Linked DNA regions of Homo sapiens: regions 1, 2, 4, 5, 6 and 7 are each linked to region 3. The links are contacts of gene promoters, found by promoter capture Hi-C in blood cells and fetal thymus (Javierre and others, 2016). All regions are on one chromosome and are shown on one strand. Each heading gives the region's core, a stretch centred on a gene start or on the middle of the fragment in contact. The rest is flanking DNA. Distances are from core to core; before and after follow the strand shown.

The links. The method cuts DNA at HindIII sites, captures the fragments that hold promoters and counts their contacts. A CHiCAGO score of 5 or more calls a contact.
Region 1: a contact is called between a fragment that was not itself captured here and the fragment with the promoter of DYNC1I2 in region 3, in 2 of 17 cell types (naive CD8 T cells and non-activated CD4 T cells). The highest score is 6.5, in naive CD8 T cells.
Region 2: a contact is called between a fragment that was not itself captured here and the fragment with the promoter of DYNC1I2 in region 3, in 1 of 17 cell types (non-activated CD4 T cells). The highest score is 5.5, in non-activated CD4 T cells.
Region 4: the fragment with the promoter of ITGA6-AS1 here is called in contact with the fragment with the promoter of DYNC1I2 in region 3 in 10 of 17 cell types (fetal thymus, naive CD8 T cells, naive CD4 T cells and 7 more); the score reaches 12.0 in fetal thymus.
Region 5: a fragment that was not itself captured here is called in contact with the fragment with the promoter of DYNC1I2 in region 3 in 6 of 17 cell types (fetal thymus, naive B cells, naive CD4 T cells and 3 more); the score reaches 9.0 in fetal thymus.
Region 6: a fragment that was not itself captured here is called in contact with the fragment with the promoter of DYNC1I2 in region 3 in 1 of 17 cell types (non-activated CD4 T cells); the score reaches 5.8 in non-activated CD4 T cells.
Region 7: a fragment that was not itself captured here is called in contact with the fragment with the promoter of DYNC1I2 in region 3 in 1 of 17 cell types (naive CD4 T cells); the score reaches 5.0 in naive CD4 T cells.

Annotation. Positions count from the first base shown.
Region 1 is chr2:172,591,018-172,593,717 of GRCh38, reverse strand. PDK1 (pyruvate dehydrogenase kinase 1) reads right to left here. Exons shown (of 11, transcript NM_002610.5): 10 at 670-783. Among named protein-coding and RNA genes, the nearest start is that of PDK1-AS1, 36 kb to the right of the region's middle. RefSeq lists a silencer at 1,573-1,780. The HindIII fragment of the contact is 4,568 bases long and covers 1-2,700 here.
Region 2 is chr2:172,512,150-172,514,849 of GRCh38, reverse strand. All of the region lies in intron 1 of PDK1-AS1 (PDK1 and ITGA6 antisense RNA 1), which reads left to right. Among named protein-coding and RNA genes, the nearest start is that of PDK1, 43 kb to the left of the region's middle. The HindIII fragment of the contact is 3,528 bases long and covers 1-2,700 here.
Region 3 is chr2:171,686,182-171,688,881 of GRCh38, reverse strand. DYNC1I2 (dynein cytoplasmic 1 intermediate chain 2) reads right to left here and starts at 1,413. Exons shown (of 18, transcript NM_001378.3): 1 at 1,255-1,413. RefSeq lists an enhancer at 1,243-1,412. The HindIII fragment of the contact is 4,493 bases long and covers 1-1,565 here.
Region 4 is chr2:172,464,595-172,467,294 of GRCh38, reverse strand. ITGA6-AS1 (ITGA6 and PDK1 antisense RNA 1) reads left to right here and starts at 1,273. Exons shown (of 2, transcript NR_157573.1): 1 at 1,273-1,471. ITGA6 (integrin subunit alpha 6) reads right to left here. Exons shown (of 26, transcript NM_000210.4): 2 at 1,632-1,756. All of the region lies in intron 3 of PDK1-AS1 (PDK1 and ITGA6 antisense RNA 1), which reads left to right. RefSeq lists an enhancer at 863-1,032. The HindIII fragment of the contact is 13,641 bases long and covers 1-2,700 here.
Region 5 is chr2:172,548,570-172,551,269 of GRCh38, reverse strand. All of the region lies in intron 1 of PDK1-AS1 (PDK1 and ITGA6 antisense RNA 1), which reads left to right. Among named protein-coding and RNA genes, the nearest start is that of PDK1, 6.2 kb to the left of the region's middle. RefSeq lists enhancers at 955-1,696, 1,697-2,439. The HindIII fragment of the contact is 2,623 bases long and covers 1-2,567 here.
Region 6 is chr2:172,571,973-172,574,672 of GRCh38, reverse strand. All of the region lies in intron 8 of PDK1 (pyruvate dehydrogenase kinase 1), which reads right to left. Among named protein-coding and RNA genes, the nearest start is that of PDK1-AS1, 17 kb to the right of the region's middle. The HindIII fragment of the contact is 7,478 bases long and covers 1-2,700 here.
Region 7 is chr2:172,665,098-172,667,797 of GRCh38, reverse strand. It overlaps a transcript of PDK1 not described here. Among named protein-coding and RNA genes, the nearest start is that of RAPGEF4, 69 kb to the left of the region's middle. The HindIII fragment of the contact is 2,247 bases long and covers 220-2,466 here.

The DNA.
Region 1 (2,700 bases), core at 174-2,673, 900 kb before region 3:
AAGCTATATGCTTACCAAGAGTCACTTGTGCTTGTTCCCAAATCTGTTTGTACAATTCTGTCATGATAATTACAAAATTTATTACATAAGCAAAGAATAAAAAGGGGAATGTTTCCTTGAAAACTAAGATGAATGTTTTGGAAAGACTCATGAAGGAAAGTCACATAAAACTTGCTGTCAAATCAGTCAGGAGGTATCTGTAAAGGACTGCATAAAAGTCCAAAAAGAGTATGCACTTGTTGGTTTAAAGAAACTAAAATGATGCACTGTCAGTACAGCTTTTGCAAAAAAGACAATGTGACACTCCAATCTGCAGACCCATATACAAAAAAAAAGCCTTGGCAGTACATCAAAAGTTTGGCGTTATCAATGTCCATTCATGTGTTTTATGTTAAAATTAAACTTGTATGATATATAACTTATGATTCTCTACTTTAACCCAATTTTTTTCCTATTAATAGACAGAGTCCTAATCACTCCAGGATACAAATCTCTTTCCCCATAGTTTTAGGGGATCATCTATCAAAATGGGTGAGATCCCCAGCAAAAAACCATAGTTTTTTTCTATTTAAACAGCATGTGGTAGAGTTAAATTTCATTACAGTTAAGTATGGACATCTGTTCTTATCATCAAAAGAAATATTAAATCAAGAAGACTACAGCTATTACCTTAATGTAGATAACTGCATCTGTCCCGTAACCCTCTAGGGAATACAGCTTCAGGTCTCCTTGGAAGTATTGTGCGTAAAGACGTGATATGGGCAATCCATAACCAAAACCAGCCTGTTTGATGAGAAAAACAAAATTCTATTCAGAAAGACACACACTGAAATACTTTTCTAATTAAGATAGATGCCATTGAGTACCACGGGGCTATCAGAGCCCGCATCTGAGAGATGCATTATATTTAATATAATTAATATTTAAGCATTGACAATGATTAAGCTGAGGTTTACTTGAGTACTGTATCAGCTGACTTCCCTCTGGTCATTTAAAACTCTTTATTCTTTCTATAAAATGACTTGTGGTTGGTCTCGAAAAAGCATATTGCTTTTCCTTGCTGGCCTGCTCGGTCGTATTGTGTCTGGAATTGGTTCCTTCCAGTGGGTTCTTGGTCTGCGGACTTCTCCAGGAGAGGGGAGAAGAGCAGCATAAGCAGCTGGCAGAGGCAGGGAAAGACCAGCAGAAAGGAAAGAGAGAAAGAGACAGAAAGTCAGAGAGAGAGACAGAGGAAGAGAGAGACAAAGAGGGAGTCAGAGAGAAAGAAAGAAAGAGACAAAGTCAGAGACAGAGAGAGGAAGAGACAGGGACAAAGAGGGAGTCAGAGAGAGAGAGAAAGAGAGACACAAAAAGTCAGAGAGAGGAAGAGACAAAGAGGAGTCAGAAAGAGAGAGGCAAAGAAGTCAAAGAGAAAGAGAGATAGAAGTAGTAAAGAAAAAACAGTGTACCCTATTCCTTCAAAAGCCAGGGTAAATTTAAAACCTATAACTGATAATTGAAGGTCTTCTCTGTAACCCTATAACACTCCAATACCACCTTGTTGTCAGTGTAAACAAGGGCATAGCCCGGAAGCACTGAGACCACTGACAACCCGTAGCTTTCCTATCAAAAATCCTTAACCCAGCAGGTTTCCTAACAGGGGATCTAAATCTGAAGGTCCGACCAGACACAGGAGGAACTCCCTTCAGGACAGGACAATAGATGTTTCCTCCCAGGCGATTAAGGGAAAAAGACACAATGGGTACTCAGTAAGTAATAAGGAAACTATTGTAGAAGCAGAGTTAGGAAAATTGCCTAATAATTGGTCTGCTCAAATATGCGAGCTGTTTGCACTCAGCCAAACCTTAAAGTACTTACAGAATCAGGAAGGAGCCATCTATACCAATTTTAAGTTAATATGGACTGAACGAGGTCTTATTAATAGCAAGGAATAATTGAAATTCCAAACTTACAAGGTTTTCAACAAAAGTAAAGTTTGCTAAAAGTTAACAGTGTAACATTTATTATCTTAACTTCTAATCTTATGGAAATCAGACCCTATCAGTGCCCCTCAAAGCTCAAGTCCATCAGCGCAGGGCCATACAACTAATACCCCTACTTACAGAGTTAGAAATGGCCACTGCTACAGGAACCGGAACAGCCAGTTTATCTACTTCATTATCCTACTACCAAACACTCTCAAAGGATTTCTTAGACAGTTTGCAAGAAATAACGAAATCTATCCTTACTCTACAATCCCAAATAGACTCTTTGGCAGCAGTGACTCTCCAAAACCGCCAAGGCCTAAACCTCCTCACTGCTGAGAATGGAGGACTCTGCACCTTCTTAGGAGAAGAATGTTGTTTTTACACTAACCAGTCAGGGATAGTATGAGATGCCGCCCGGCGTTTACAGGAAAAGTCTTCCGAAATCAGACAACACCTTTCAAACTCTTATACCAACCTCTGGAGTTGGGCAACATGGCTTCTCCCCTTTCTAGGTCCTGTGACAGCCATCTTGCTATTACTCACCTTCGGACCCTGTATTTTTAACCTCCTTGTCAAATTTGTTTCCTCTAGAATCAAGGCCATCAAGCTATAGATGGTCTTACAAATGGAATCCCAAATGAACTCAACTAACAACTTCTATCAAGGACCCCTGGACTGACCCGCTGGCCCTTTCACTGGCCTAAAGAGTTCCCCTCTGGAGGACACTACAACT
Region 2 (2,700 bases), core at 92-2,591, 830 kb before region 3:
GAGTAAAGTTTGCTTTAACTGCTCCTTAACTAACTCATGGGCCGTTTGTAATTTCTCTCCCTTTAGAGGTTACAGTTTTACTTAAATTGGATTTGGAGAGAGTTAGGGGTAAGAGAGAGATAACAGTGCCCATTATCAGAAAGAGGTTTTTCAAATTATTAAATTTTACTTAAATCTTAGCATAGAATTATAATTTGGGATGTCTCTTGTCTACAAGGAGCACATGAAATTTTGCCGTGGGCCACCTGCAGAGCTGGAGAGCTAAGCAGACTGGTCCTGGAGTGGCAGCTGTGTTGCGCTTGCAAAAGCGCTGCTTTTTTCTGTGCCGCTTTTCGCCTGTGCCACTTCCTACCCCCGCTGCCCAGTGGCTGTTGCCCACTGGGCCGACTTTCCCACATGCGCCTCCTGCCTCTCTCTAACAGGCTAACTTCCAAGCACTGGGCCTGGCTGTTTGTTGCCGCTGCCTCCGTGTGGACAGAGTTCCTGGGAGCACTTGCTGGCTTTGGTTTCCCGAACTTCCTCTCTGCCAAGTCTCTCCTTCTGCTTACTGCTCGCTTGGCCGCCTGGCTTTGGCCTCTAATGCTTTTTTTTAACAACTCTTTAGGTACCTGATTGCCTTGCTGATTTTGCATTATTGGGCAGGCTAAGAGCTCCCCTTTTAATGCTGCCTGCTTAAGACAGGGTTTCATAGCTGTAGTGTATCTCTTGTTTTGTTTTTTTTTTCTTATCTATTGGAGGAGGTGGCTCAGGCACAACTTCTGTTTCCTCTTTGTTATTTTGGCCCAGTAATATCAGGGCTGAGGGAAGAGGAGGCGATAAGATAGGTGACGGTTCCTCCTCCTTCCCCTTTTTAGGCTCTTCTGTGTATAACGGAACTAGGGCTGCTCTAATTAAAGCCCATAGCATTAAAAGCTGTTACTGGGACACATTGCCCTTGTGCATAACGTTGTTTAATATTTCTCCCCACTTGTTCCCAGACCTCTACATCTAGCGGTCCTTCTTCTGGGAACCATGGATTAAGTGAGACAACAGTTTGCATTGGGTCTCTTAATTGAGCCTGCAAAACTGATGCTCCCCTAGCCTTAAGTAACTGTTTCAACACTTTTATGTACTGTCTTTGTTGAACTGATAACTATTGTCCCATGATGAAATCTCAGCCTGAACAATCCCCCACCCCCCCAAACTTGGTAATCCCAAGCAGGCACCAATGACTCACTGTTTTACTGACTTGACCGCCAGTCCTCTCCACCTTCATTTCTGGGGGTCTGTCGCGCTCCCTTCACAGCGATCCCCACACAGGGCACCAGCTGCGGAGTCTGTCCCACAGACCCTGACCCAACAACGGATGAATAAAGTACACTGACACACAGATATGCTGCTTTGCCAGTCCAGCTGAGTGTCCAGGCTGCTTACAGACTACAAGCAGAGTGCTGTAAACAGTTGTGACTGCGGCCTTGATCAGTCAGTGAGACTTGCATTTATTCAGTAAAGGTTAATTGACAAAGGTCGTGAGTAAACACCACTAGAGGGTAGTTGACATTGTGGACCTCCTGAGTAGAAATCAGTTAAGCACCCACAGTAAATCAAAGGTTAGTCTTAGGACCACATGAGTAAACAAGCTAGTTAGATAAACTCCGCACATTCCTTTGTTTCTACTTTAATTTACTTAACTAAGGGGACAAGGCTGCCTTCAGCCAAGTTTATTACTGGAGCTTATGCATCTCCCCCAGGCCTTCCAAGAAGGTTTGCGTCTTATAATTTTCCCCACCATCCTGACTGAATCCCCAGAGGCATGCATTAAACTCTTTCTCTATTGCAATCCCCTGTCTTGATAAATTGGCTCTATCTGGGCAGTAGGCAAGGAGAACCTATTGGTTGGTTACAAAGTTTATAAATTTGGAAAGGAGAGCTTTATTTTTCATAAAAGTTTGCAGCTGGCAGGGTGACCATTCTGACACTGGGAAGGATAGCCTCTGGCCAGGAGCTAGAAACAGATACTTTGAGGGAGGGGCAAAGGGAACAGGAGTCTATGCTGAACAGAGTGGCCAGCAATAGGAATCATGAATATTTACAAAAGGAGAAATGTGCATATATGCAATGGGGCTTCATGCCCCTTCATGAGTCACATGTACACTAGCCAGAGCCACTCTGTGGTCAGTGGTCTCTTATTAGGAAGAAATGCTGGTCAATTGTTGTGTCAAAACCCCAAAAGGGAGATGCAGCATCCCTTAAATTCAGGTTTTCAAAATTACTCTGGGGTCCCTGTGGCAAAGAGGGGGTCCATTTATTTGGTTGGGGGGCTTAGGATTTCATTTTTATTTTTCAAAATAGGGTTGAAGGCAAATACTTGAAGTTGCAATCGAAGGTCAAGAAAATGGAATCAAGAGGTCACAATCCTTCTCTGATGATGGCTTAGAAAGCTGGAAGACACTCAACATTGAATCCTGGGGCTCTGTGCCATGCTTGCTAGGAGAAACAGCCACCATGAGTCCATCTTTCAGATCTCAAGTGAACAGGTATGCAAGTCATAGAATTAAATTTATTTCAGCCGTGTGCGGTGGCTCACTCTTGTAATCCCAGCACTTTGGGAGGCTGAAGCAGGCAGATCACTTGAGGTCAGGAGTTTCAGACCAGTTTGGCCAACATGCTGAAACCCCCATCTCTACTAAAAATATAAAGGTAGCTGTGCATGGTGGTGGG
Region 3 (2,700 bases), core at 164-2,663:
AGATCAAGAAAACTAGGAGAATAACCTCTGGAAAACTGTATTTCCAGAGGTTAGGGGAAATCTCTTAAAAAGCACAATTGTTAAATCTGAACAAAGGTAAGTCAGTCAAGAGGAGAAATTCACCTACTAAGAAGTGGATAAAGGAAATTTCAGCTACTAAACTCCATTAAGACTGGCAAGCGAATTGATAATTTTCAAGCATACGAAAAGGATGAAAAGTTGACATAGCAGACCTGAAATATATACACAATATCTTCCAAGATTTGTTTGAACAAACTAAAAGCAAGAGACCGTGTTTCTTATTCCACTCTTTCTACACCTCTAAACAGCTCCATACAAACGGCTGGTGAAGAGAACTTCCATACGTAACTGTATGCTACGCTAGGCACATTATATTTTGTTCAACGTCAACTGTAAAACAGATATACCAACACTAATTGATATTAAAATAAGCGCATTTTTAAAGCCCAACAACAAAGTCTTGACCAGCTGAACTACAGCTGACCAATCCTCTCATCCTCACAGAAGCCAGAGCCTTCCTCCATGACCGACATGTTCACGTTCTTAAAACTCAAGAGAAGAGAGTCTCTAGAGTTTTGTGCTAGAACCTCCGTGTTCGGGGGCTTTCCATCACACATAAGGTGAGGGGAGACACTATCAAGGCAAGTAGAGATGGCCTTAATTTGTAAAATGGGGCAAGGCGAAAACGAATCACTTTCTCCCCTGGGGTCACGGCCAAGAGGGCGCGGTCCACGGCAGGGCGTCCGGAAGAAGCCAGTGGGCGCCGGACAAGCCTCAAGGCTCCCCAGGCCGCCTCTGGAGGGTCGAGAAGGGAAAGGAGTGGACTCCTCTCGCCGGGCCGCAATGAGTCACCGCACCCAGGTCTCCCCGCCTTTCCTCCCCAAAGCTGGGCCGGGCGGGGATGTCAGCAGGAACTGCCAAGCCGCCCTTCGAGTTGCGACGTGGAACACAGGCAGGGAGGCCTTGAGGGAAGAACAGTCAACCCACCTGTCAGGTGACTGGATGGGGAAGAGTCCTCCCGCCTGCAACTTCCCGGTAACGTCCCTCGCCTAAGCCCCCAACACCAACTGTAGCCACCACCAGCTCCGCGGCTTTCCAAAGCACACAAAGAGGGATGGGCGGCGGCTGCTACGGCGAGAGCTTAGGGACAAATAGCCTCACCAGAACGAGGTCGCTCCCAGAAATAAAAGGTGGGGCCCTGCTGCGAGGAATTGTAGCCCCTCCGTGACTTACCTGTCGTAAAGCAGAAGCCGGTAGATAAAACAAAGAACCCAGTCAACCCAGGGGCCTTAAGTATTTCCGCTTTGCCAAAAACTGGAAAACTACGCCTAATATTCTCAGGCCAGGAATCCAACTTCCGCCCTCGCCTTACAAACTGACACGATCGAGAAGAACTACAAACCCCGGCAACAAGGAAAACCTGCGTGCGACGAGCAGTGCGTTCTGGGAATTGTGGTCGCTGGGCGTCGCAAGGTGTGCTGGGACATGTAGTGTGTCCCCTCCTTTAGATTTCCCACTCCAAGGCCTTCTTCCGTCGAGAAGCTTCTGTATAAAGTATTCTCGTCTGTTGATCCGTGCCCACAGTGTAGTATGTGTTATAGTGTAAGATCTTTGACCCAATATTGGCGGAATTTTAAGGTCTATTTTCCAGTGGTGAACCTGTGAATCACGCTGCTGCACATTTGGTGAAGACGTGAAGTAGACTGTTTAGGATGTAAAACATTATATATATATATGTACATACATATGTAAGTTTTAGGGAAAGAATGTCTTATATAGGCTTCATGTGGCATCTTAGGCAAAATCTAAATAAAAATATGTCAACTGACATAGCAAATAATTCTTTAGTATTTTGTTGCAGTGTGGTAGCATTTTGGTTTTCTCTCAAACAATTTTAGGAAATAAAGCATTTTGTATTATTGGACTCTCAAACCAAGCTAGAATGTTTTCCACAGTTAGATTTTTAACATACAAAGAAAACAAAAGTTACTGGAACATGAATTTACCTGCAATGTATACATTGACACACCTTTTTAAAGTTTAAATAATTTAAAGCATTATTTGGCAGGAGTTAAAGCTAACACCAAGGTAATATCTTTTCTATGTTCTAGAAAACTGATTGTTCTAGAAGTTCTAGATATTGCCCAAGTCTAGAATGAACCTTTATGATTCAAATTCCAAGTCCTTGGGCTTGTGGTCTTTTTCTTATCTTTCTCTGCCTTATCTGTGGTCTTTTGTGTAGAAAAAAATATTCTAAAAATAAATTTGAGAAAGAAAATCCTTGGCTTTCCACAGCTTTTCCCAATAACCTAACATTCAAAGAGCTTTATAGCTATGTTATTTTTTTACTTCTTTCCTAATAGTTTTCATGTATTAATTTGAAAAAAAATTATTATTGATTGCCTACCATGTGCCAGCAATGGTGATGGGTGTTGTGGTAACAGCTAAAATGGACCAGGCGCAGTGGCTCACACCTGTAATCCCAGCACTTTGGGAGGCCGAGGCAGGCAGATCACCTGAGCTCAGGACTTAGAGACCAGCCTGGGCAACATGGTGAAACCCCGTCTCTACAAAAAATAGAAAAATTAGCAGGGTGTGTGGCATGCGCCTGTAGTCCTAGCTAGTCACGAGGCTGAGGCAGGAGGATGGCTTGCGCCCAGGAGGCGGAGGTTATAGTGA
Region 4 (2,700 bases), core at 24-2,523, 780 kb before region 3:
TTTCAAACATTTGAAACATAAAGTACTTAGCTCTATATAGTTGCCTATTTTGTCCAACAATACCCTTTGCCCTCTCTTGATACCTAGGGTCCTGAATGCAGAAGGTAAGTGAAACTGTAAGACTAAGGGAGCCCTCCAAAATACATCTCTTAAGGCAACAATGTAAAATCTAGTATTCCAAACTGCAGCTACCATCCAAACTAACAAAAAAAATGGGTACTTCTCTATATACTCCCCAATTTTTTTATTTAACAGCATTAAATGTTCTCTTCTTTACTGGAGATGGAAGAAAAAGACTCAGATTTACTTTAGGATCTTGTAGCTGACAATGTATCAATGCCAAACAGGAGAGTTACTGTTAGTCAGAGAGACGGGGACCACAAACACCACCAGGTGCTCATTTCAGTATCAATTTAAACCCACTGTGTGACCTATATCCAAATTTTGCACTCCTCCATAAGTAGCAATACAGACACAGGTTTTAATCTTGAATCATTACAAAAACATTAAACAACTTTAGACAGAAGGAAAAATGCCAAAATGTTAAAAAATAAGTCTAGATACTGAGATTGCCAGTGGGTTTTTTTATTCTTCATAGGTCTGTGTATTTTACCAGCTTCTTAAAATTAACACATATTAGTTTCTAATAAAAGAACACATGTTATTTCTTTTCTTGAGATGGTATCTTGCTCTGTCACCCAGGCTGGAGTGTAGTGGCACGATTTTGGCTCACTGCAGCCTCTGCCTCCCAGGTTCAAACAATTCTCACGCCTCAGCCTCCTAAGTAGCTAGGACTACAGGCGTACACCACCACGCCTGGCTAATTTTTGTATTTTTAGTAGAGATGGGGTTTCACCATGTTGGCCAGGCTGGTCTTGAACTCCTGACCTCAAATGATCCACCCAACTCGGCCTCCCAAAATGCTAGGATTACAGGTGTGAGCCACCGACGCCTGGCCAACAAATGTTATTTCTAAAAGATGAAGAAGCAAGAGAAGAACATAGACACGAATCTGCAAATCTACTTAGACCGAACATATCAAACGAGGTTTGGCTAGAGCTTCTCAGTACACTAATTGCTCTGCTCAACCTACAAGAAGCCAGGTACACTGGATGTCAACATGCCTACCTCATGGTATCTTCTACCTATCCAGAGCCCTTAACAAAACAAGTCTCTATCTGAGACAGGAGGGAAAACTTTATCTCTGTTAGCCAGCTCTCATTCCAAAGGGGTCTGATATTTAAAACTGTCTTTCTCCCAAATATTTTAACAGCATGTGAGAACTTTTGGCTGATGAATACAAGATACGCTCATTCATTCTCTTCATTGCTATGAAATGAGTTTTTCCACAACCTCCTGCAGAACCTCAACACATCACTAGGTGGCAACATCCCTACACCATATCGGTTTAGAAACCACGGTTAGGAGGAGCAGCAAAACACGCGGCATCCCAGTATGATTCAGAAGTAAAGTAAGTAAATATTTTCAGGGCAAATAAAAAACAGTCAAGTCTGATGCAATTAAAAGAAGTCCTCTCTACAAGAATAAATGTTTGTCCCCACTCTCCTCCCTCATGGAAACAGTACAGGCAAGCTGCCGGAGTGAACGCTGAGTGAGGGAAAGGAACGCACCATCGTTATCAAACTCGATCCGCGTGCATGGCCCCCGGGCGGTGATGTCGCAGCTGTACAGCCCTCCCGTTCTGTTGGCTCTCTGCAGTGGAAGCGCTTCTGCCCGCGGGGCCCCCACGAGCAACCTGTTGATGAAACAGAGACAATTTGGAGATTTGAATTTAATATACGTTTAACAGTTAAATCAGTCAGAACTAGGAGATAGTGGGATTATTCTTTGTCTAGGAGTCCACTAATTCTTCAACAGCTTAGGCAGTGAGTGAGAACAAATGTAGAGTCCTATGGCTGGTTCATGCAAAACGCACAAACACAACTAAACAGGGGAAGCCAAAGAGGGGATACCAAAACGAGGAAAATAGGCCTGTCTCTCATAGTATCAGCATTTCTTGCTGGGTATGATCTGGTGTTTAAAAGACACCCTCTTCAAAGAATACAACCTCTAAGCCCCTATGATGCCAGGGATATCATATGAAACTCAAGAGAAGAAACCAAATACTTGTGACAATGGAAGGAAAAAATGGCCACACTAAATGTAATAAGCAATAATATGTCAGTTTCTAACACTGTGCCTTCCTGAGGTAGTTTTCAAGGGTAATTCTGACTATATCTTAGATTTTCAGTTTATATACTAATTGAGAGAACCTAATGGTAAGTAAGATACAACTCGACTGAATTATTCACTTGCAGCCTTGGCCTCTTTCCAATTCTTTTTTTTTTTTCCCTCCAGTTTTATTAGGGTAGAATGGACAAATAAAAAGCAGATATATTTGAGGTGTACAAGTTGATGTTTGTTCTTCCAAGTCAGTTCTTACTTCCTTGCACTTTTGTCACATTACAAGAGTTCGTCCTCTCTCATCCTATCAGTCTCCCACAAAGGATTCAGGGACAACTGGTGTAGCTCCACTTATGTACTAGGCACTGTAATATTCCTTCTTCTCCCCAGCCGAGTGTTTTTATCTCCTATAAGGAGGCCCCCAGTCCAAATCCACAGTCCTTAAAATTTCACCATCTCACAGCTTGACAGGCTCTTTAGAGATCCAATGACCTTGTTGCTAGGTCTCTTTTGCTA
Region 5 (2,700 bases), core at 7-2,506, 860 kb before region 3:
GTTTGTGGCAATGGAGATAGACTTTGCACACAAAGAGTCTGAGTGGTGGTGGGGTGGGGGGTACTATAAATGAGACTATGAGCCTCAAGAATTTACAGACATGGACAGGGAGAACTCTAGACTTTCACAAACTGAGACTGGTAATGTTAAAAGATAAATTTGGGCACATTAAAAGTTTTAAAAATTTATTTGAACTGTTGATTTAAAAAAAAGACTCAAACTCTGTAAAATATTTTAAGAGATTTATTCCGAGCCAAATGTGAGTGACCAAGGCCTGAGGCACAGTCCCAAGAGGTCCTGAAAACATGTGCCCAAGGTGGTCGGGTCATAGCTTGATTGTGTACAGTTTTAGGGGAACAGAAGTTGCAGGCAGACATCACTCAGTACATGTAAAGCGTACACTGCTTTGGTCTGAAAAGGCAGGACAACTTTAAGACGTAATATAGGGGGATTGGGAAACTTGTGGCAGGAGGGGGCTTCCAGGTTATAGGGAGAGTCAAAGATTTTCTGACTGGCAATTGGTTGAAAGAGTTAAGTTACTATCTCAAGACCTAGGATCAATTGAAAGGAGTGTCTGGATTAAGACAAGGGGTTGTGGAGACCAAGATTCTTATTACACAGATAAAGGTCCCACATAGCAGGCTTCAGAGAGAACAGATAGTAAATGTCTCTTATCAGACCTAAAAAGGTGTCAGACCTTAAAAGGAAAAACCTGGAAAGGGAAGGGGATCCTCTACAGAATATAGATTTTCCCCAGAAGAAATAGCTTTGCAGGGCTAGTTCAAAATATGTCAAAAAAATATGTTTTGTAGTAAAACACTTCAGTTTATTTCAGGACCTGCTATCTGTCATGTGTTGCTACTGAGGAGTAAATTCTGATTTTTTTATCTTGCCCAAATTCCTATCTAAGAGTTCTGGGGAGTCATGCCCTACAAACCATAAATTCTCATCAGATGGGTTTTATTTAACCCTATATATCGAGACTTACTTTTCACCCTGACTCTGGAATAACATTACATGACAAGGAAGAAAAGCAAAATATTTTATCCCAAAACATGTTTTTTTGCCATATCTTGAAATGGCCCTGCAAATCTGTCTTTTGTGGGGGAAAATTTGCATCAGTAAAGAATCTCTATTAACATAGCTAGATCTTTTACTTCCAGGCCCTCCCAATCCTAAAAAGATTAACTTAAAGTCTAGCACCTTTTAAAGATCTGAATAGGAAACGTTTGTCATCTGTTGTCTCTGAGGGCAGCCACAATAAAACTTCAAAAGAACCTTGGTCTCCACAATCCTTTATCTTAACCTGAACATTTCCTTTCTGTGATCTCAGGTCTTTAGATAAACTCAACCAATTGTAAATCAGAAAATGTTTAAATTTACCTATAGCCTGGAAGCCCCAACTTTGAATTGTCCTACCTTTCAGGACTAAACCAATGTATTTCTTAAATGTATTTGATTGATGTCTCATGCCTCCCTAAAATGTATAAAACCAAACTGTGCCCCAATCACCTTGGGCACATGTTCTGAGGACCTCCTGAGAGCTGTGTCACGGGGCCATGGTCACTCATATTTGGCTCGGAATAAATCTCTTCAAATATTTTACAGAGTTTGGGAGTCCTCGGCCTCCCAAAGTTCTGGGATTACAGACGTGAGCCACTGTGCCCAACCTTGTAACTGTTTCTTATCAGACTTTAAAAAGGTGCCAGAGTTAGTTAATTCCCTTCTGAATCAGGGAAAGTACTTGGAAAGGGAAGAGGATTCTCTGTAGAATGTAGATTTTCCCCACAAGAGACAGCTTTGCAGGGCCATTTCAAAATATGTCAAGAAATATATTTTGGGATAAAATCTTTAGTTTCTTGCAGAACCTGCTCCTTGTCATGTTGGTATCTTAGGCTACAAACAGTCTGTTTTGTCAGATGTAAAATCTCTATGTTAATGTTAATGCTGGTCAGCTGTACCTAAATTCCAGAAGGGAGGACAGAATAATGAGACATGTCTGACCCCGCCTTCCCATCATGGCCTGAACTAGTTTCTCAGGTTAACTTTGGAATGCTCTTGGCCAAAAGGAGGGGTCCATTCAGTTGGTTGGAGGGTTTAGAATATATATATTTTTTGAGACAGAGTCTCACTCTGTTGCCCAGGCTGACGTGTAGTGGCATGATCTCAGCTCACTGCAACCTCCGCCTCTTGGGTTGAAGTGATTCTCCAACCTCAGCCTCCCGAGTAGCTGTGATTACAAGTATGTGCCACCACACCTGGCTAATTTTTGTAATTTTAGTAGAGATGGGGTTTCACCCTGTTGGTCAGGCTGGTCTTGAACTACTGACCTCAGATGATTTGCCCACCTCGCCTCCCAAAGTGGTGGGATTACAGGCCTGAGCCACTGCCCCAGCCGAATTTTATTTTTGGTTTACAAGGGAGAAGCTCATTGGGTAAACCAACTAAGGAGGGGCAGAATAACCAAATACTTATTTTATTTTGTTAATCCTTTCAGAGGTGCAATGGTTTTCACTCACATCTGTGTGAAGAGACCACCAAACAGGCTTTGTGTGAGCAATAAAGCTTTTAATCACCTGGGTGCAGGCGGGCTAAGTCCGAAAGGAGAGTCAGCAAAGGGATATAAGGATGGGGCCATTTTATAAGATTTGGGTAGGTAAAGTAAAATTATAGTCAAAGGGGGGTTGTTCTCTGATTGGC
Region 6 (2,700 bases), core at 175-2,674, 890 kb before region 3:
ATAATAAAATACTTAGGAATAAATTTAAAAGTCCAAGACTTGTACACTAAAAACCACAAAACATTATTGAAAGAAAGCAAAGAAGACCTATAAAGATGCCCTGTGTTGTAAGTGTAAAGATATCTTGTATTCATGAATTAGAAGAGTTAATATTGTTAACTCTAAGATGGCAACACTTCCCAAATGATGCCCATCAAAATTCTAGCTGGCATTGTTTTTTTGCAGAAATTGACAAGCTGATCCTAAAACCCATGGAAATGCAAGAACCCATAACAGCCAAAATAATCTTGAAAAAGAAGTTGTAGGACTCACACTTGCAAATTTCAAAACTTAAAGCTACAATCATTGAGACAGGCATTAAGTACTTGCATAACGAGAGATATATACATCAATGAAATAGAACTGAAAATCCAGAAATAAATCCCATACATTTATGAGCAATTGATTTTTGACAAGGGTGACAGGGCAATTGAATGGGGAAAGAATAGGTTTTTCACAAATAGTACTGGGACAACTGGATATCCACATGCAAAAGAATGAAGATGAACCTCTACCTCAAACCATGTACAAAACTTAACTCAAAATGGATCGAAGACCTAAATATAAAAGCTAAAACTATAAAACTCTTAGAAACATAGGCATAAGTCGTCAAGACTTTGGAGTAGGCAATGGTTTCTTAGACATAAAACTGAAATCACATGCAATGTGAAAAAAAAATTGAAAATTTTCAAAACTAAAAACTTTGGCTGGGTGTGGTGACTCACACCTGTAATCCCAGCACTGTGGGAGGCCAAGGTGGGAGGACTGCTTAAGTTCAGGAGTTCAAGACCAGCCTGGGCAACATAGCAAGACCCCATCTCTATTTAAAAAAGCAAAAAACAAAAAAACACAACTTTGTACTTCAAAGGATACTATCAAGAAAGTGAAAAGAACCCACGGAATGGGAGAATATACTTGCAAATCATACATCTCATCAGGGACTAGTAACCCCTATATACATATATATATATCTAGAGAGAGTGTATATATATATACACACACATAGAATATATACACACAAATAGAATATATATAGGGTGTATATATATACACACACATATATGTATATATGCGTATATATACACATATGTATGTATATATGTATATGTATGTGTGTGTATATATATACACACACATAGAATCCCTATATATATATACACATATACATGAGAGAGAACCGTTACAACTCAACAATAAAAGACAGCCAATTTTAAAACTGAAAAAAGGATCTTAATCTACATTTCTTCAAAGATACACAAATGGCCGATCAGCAAATGAAAAGATGCTCAACATCATAGTCATTAGACAAATGCAAATAAAAACCACACTGAGATACCACTTCACACTCACAATAATGTCTATAATAAAAAAGACAGACTACAATTGTTGACAAGGACGAGGTAAAACAGGAACCTTCACACATTGTTGATGACAATGCAAAATGGTGCAGGTCCTTTGGAAAACAGTTTGGCAGTTTCTCAAGTTAAACAGAGTTTCCTATGATTCAGCAATTCAATTCCTAGGTATATACATAAGATAACTGAAACACATGTTCACACAATAATTTGTACACAAACATTCATAGCCATATTATTTATAATAACCAAAAAATAGAAACAAACCAAATGTCTATCAACTGATGAATGGATAACCCAAAGGTGTTATATCCATATAACAGAATATCATTTGGTCATAAAAAGGAATGAAGTACAAATGCATACTATAACATTATACTAAGTGAAAGAAGTCAGTAACAAAAGACCACATACTGCATGATTAAATTTATATAAAATGCCCAGAAAGAGAAATACACAAACAGAAAATAGATCAGTGGTTGCCAAGGGCTAGAAGAGAGAAAAACGGGAAGTGACTTCATAGGTACTGCGTATTTTCCTTTTTTTCTTTTTTTCAGATGGAGTCTCAATCTGTCACCCAGGCTGGAGTGCAGTGGTGCAATCTTGGCTCACCGCACCCTCTGCTGCTGGGTTCAAGCGATTCTCGTGCCTCAGCCTCCTGAATAGCTGGGATTACAGGCGCCTGCCACCACACCCAGCTAATTTTTTGTATTTTTTGTAGAGATGGGGTTTCACCATGTTGGCCAGGCTGGTCTTAAACGCCTTACCTCAGGCAATCTGCCCAACTTGGCCTCCCAAAGTGCTGGGATTACAGGCATGAGCTGCTGTGCCTGACGGAGTACTTGGGTTTTTTCTTAGGACTGATGAAAATGTTCTAAAATGAGACAGCGGCAATACTTGAATAACCTTATGAATTCCACTGAATTGTACCTTTTTTAAAAAAGGAACAATGGATGCCTTCAAAATTTTGCAGGATGATTATTCTCAGCTTCGAATTTCATATACAAACTTAAATATTGGGATAATAGTATAGGGAAACTGGCCCTTGGGCTAGGGGAGGGGAGGGGAGCAGGTGCTCTATTAAAGAGAGCTAACTCCTCAACTACTATAACAGAAAGGTAATATTTACTGTTTAAAATGTAAACATTAGGCCAGGTGCAGTAGCTCATGCCTGTAATCCCAGCACTTCGGGAGGCCGAGGCAGGCGGATAACACGAGGTCGAGTTCGAGACCAGCCTGGCCAATATGGTGAAACCCTGTCTCTACTAAAATACAAAAAATTAGCTAGGCGTGGTGGCGGGTGCCT
Region 7 (2,700 bases), core at 94-2,593, 980 kb before region 3:
CATGGCAGAGAGCCCAAAACCAGAAGCTGTGTTAGTATGTGATGGTGATGTAAATTGTAATATGTGTACTTAGTAGAGAGCACTACAGAATACAGAATTACCTTATGAATTAGCTTATATCTGACAAGAATGTTTTATCAGATGGTCTTTACAAGAAACTGAGGTCATTGCAGTAATATTTGCGAAAACCATGCTTTTCTAGTTTCTGAATTTGAAGCTTTCACATCCAGGGAGTTGCTGACCTGGAGGATTTGTCCTTCCCAGGGTTAGCTAATTTCCAGAGATAGCAAATGTTTGCACCTTTCATATGCAAACCAACTAATTCAGAGCCTACATTACCAATCACCTTCTTTATTTGGTTCTTATACTCTGTGAAACTGTATCCCTCTCCTAATCACCCCTGGGCCAGGTACCAGGCAACTAGGGACAGCCCCATTGCCCCAGACCTTGCTGAAATTATTCAAAATAGTTCATTCTAAACCTGCTCACTCTGTCTTGCCTGTTCCTTCTGCAGACAACCACAATAAAGGCCCTTTCCCACATTTCCCTCTCATTCCCTCTGCTTTCTGACCACCCCAGTCCTACTTCCCTAGAGGTCCTGCTTCTGTTTTCTAGGAATATGTGAGTATTAAAAATGTCTTCCTTTTTCTAGTTCCCTTGAAAGGGTGAAAGGGTGAGAGTGGGTGAGAGATGAGAGACTACCTAATGAGTACAATGTACATTATTTGAATGATGGTTACACGAAAAGCCCAGACTTCACTACTACATAATATATCCACGTAACAAAACTGCACCCCTTAGATTTATACAAATAAAAAATTAAAAAATTAAAATTTCTTTCTTCACAACAAAACTTTCTGTGTCTGCGTAGGATATAATAAATTCCTCTTCAAAGGTTTTAGCCAGTAAATTGTTAAGTACAATGAGTTCTGAGATCCTCTCCAAAGAACTAATGTATCAGTATGTTCAGCTCTCTTGTTCTTTGTTCTTCATTTTAAACTTCCTCATTCTTTACGTCTCTTGCCCCTAGTTTCAGTAAATAACCCCCTTCTAGCCTCTATCACCTGCTCTGACCTTAGTCACCCCGGTCACCTACTCTGACCTTAGTCATCTTTGGTCACCTGCTCTGTTCTTAGTCACCCTGAGTCACCTGTTCTGTAACCATCCTTCCCACCAAACTAGTCACCCTGCCACTCCAGCTCGTACCCCTGCTCTTTTTAAAATAGCCAATCAGAATTAGCTTAGACTGTGTGGTCCAACCCTAGCCAATAGGGGAACGACACAGCAGTAGGGGCTACCTGCGTCAGGGATAAGAACCCCTTCCCCTCCCTTGTTCAGGTGTGCTCTCGCCATTGCTCCATCCACAAGATACACCCTTCTACAGAAGTAAAATTGCCTTGCTGAGAAAATTAAATTTATGTTTGAGTGCTATTTATTTGTGGCACTGAAAATTTATTTCCAACATCTGTATAGACTACTGGAGAAAGATACCTACAGGAATGTCTTCTCTGTACTCCTCTATTGATGTAAATCTTGAGCCTTTTAACGTACAACTGAGACATAAGGAATAGCATGTGTAGTAGGTTAGTGGGACCCTAGTCAAGTTGAGCTGTGGAAATGATAATCTTGTCAATGCAAAGGAGGAAATGCCTCAGTAAATCAAAGTATTGATCGTATATACAGCCCTCAACAGAGACCTAAAACATCAGGCCTTAATTAATAAAGAAGTTTATATTTCTTATATTACCAGAAATCTGGGAAGAGGAAATCCAGAGCTGACCCAGCTCCTCAAATATGCAGGCTCCTACTATTTTTCTGTTCCATCATCCTTACCTTTTGGCTTTCATGCTTATGGCCACAAAATAACTGCTGCTTCTCCAGGTGTTATGTCTGAGTGATCCAGGAAGAAAAATGAGGGAAGGAATAGGGCAAAGGGCTTTGCTAGCTCAGTCTGACCATTTCCATAGACACTCAGACTTTTCCACAAACCCCACCCCATCGATTGCTGCTTATGTCTGTTTGACCAAACTGTGCTACTTGGTCACAGGAGCCTAGAAATTAGATTTTAAAATGCCAACGCTGCATATCTGATTCTTCCTGTGCAAACTGGGGTTTTGTTATCAAGGAAGAATGAGAGAGAAAAGGAATCTGGTAGGCAAATTGCACTTCTGCTACAATTTTTAACAAAAGTGAGGTTAAGGGGCTTCAGGGTAGGCTCAGGCAACAGCAACAGCATAGCCACCTGCCTCTTCATGGATCCAAACAAAGGACAAAAAGTGAATTTATATGCAAGCCACACCTTCAGCATAACCTAAAGACAGAATGTCCAAACTTCAAAATAATTATGAATAGAAAGAGAATAATAAGTCCTCAGAACATAATTTCTCATTCCCTCACCACACCCTAGCCCTTAGGGCAAACAAAAGCAAACCTAGAGAGCTGCAGGGAAGGCAAAATAGGGAAGCTTGTGAAGGATCCTGAGTTTGATTTAACACTAGAAAGTCTAGGTCCACCCTAGTCTGAGATCAGAGCATGGACTTCAGGAAGGAACTTGGAAGTCTGGGCAATTTAAAGGGGGCAATCATTGAAACCCAAAAGTTCTGAGAAAGAACAAAAGAAACAAAAAAGAAAAGAAAAAAAAAACATTCTTTGGCACTAGGTGGGAAGAGTTAAAAAAGAAAAGATGGAAATTTTAGGTTC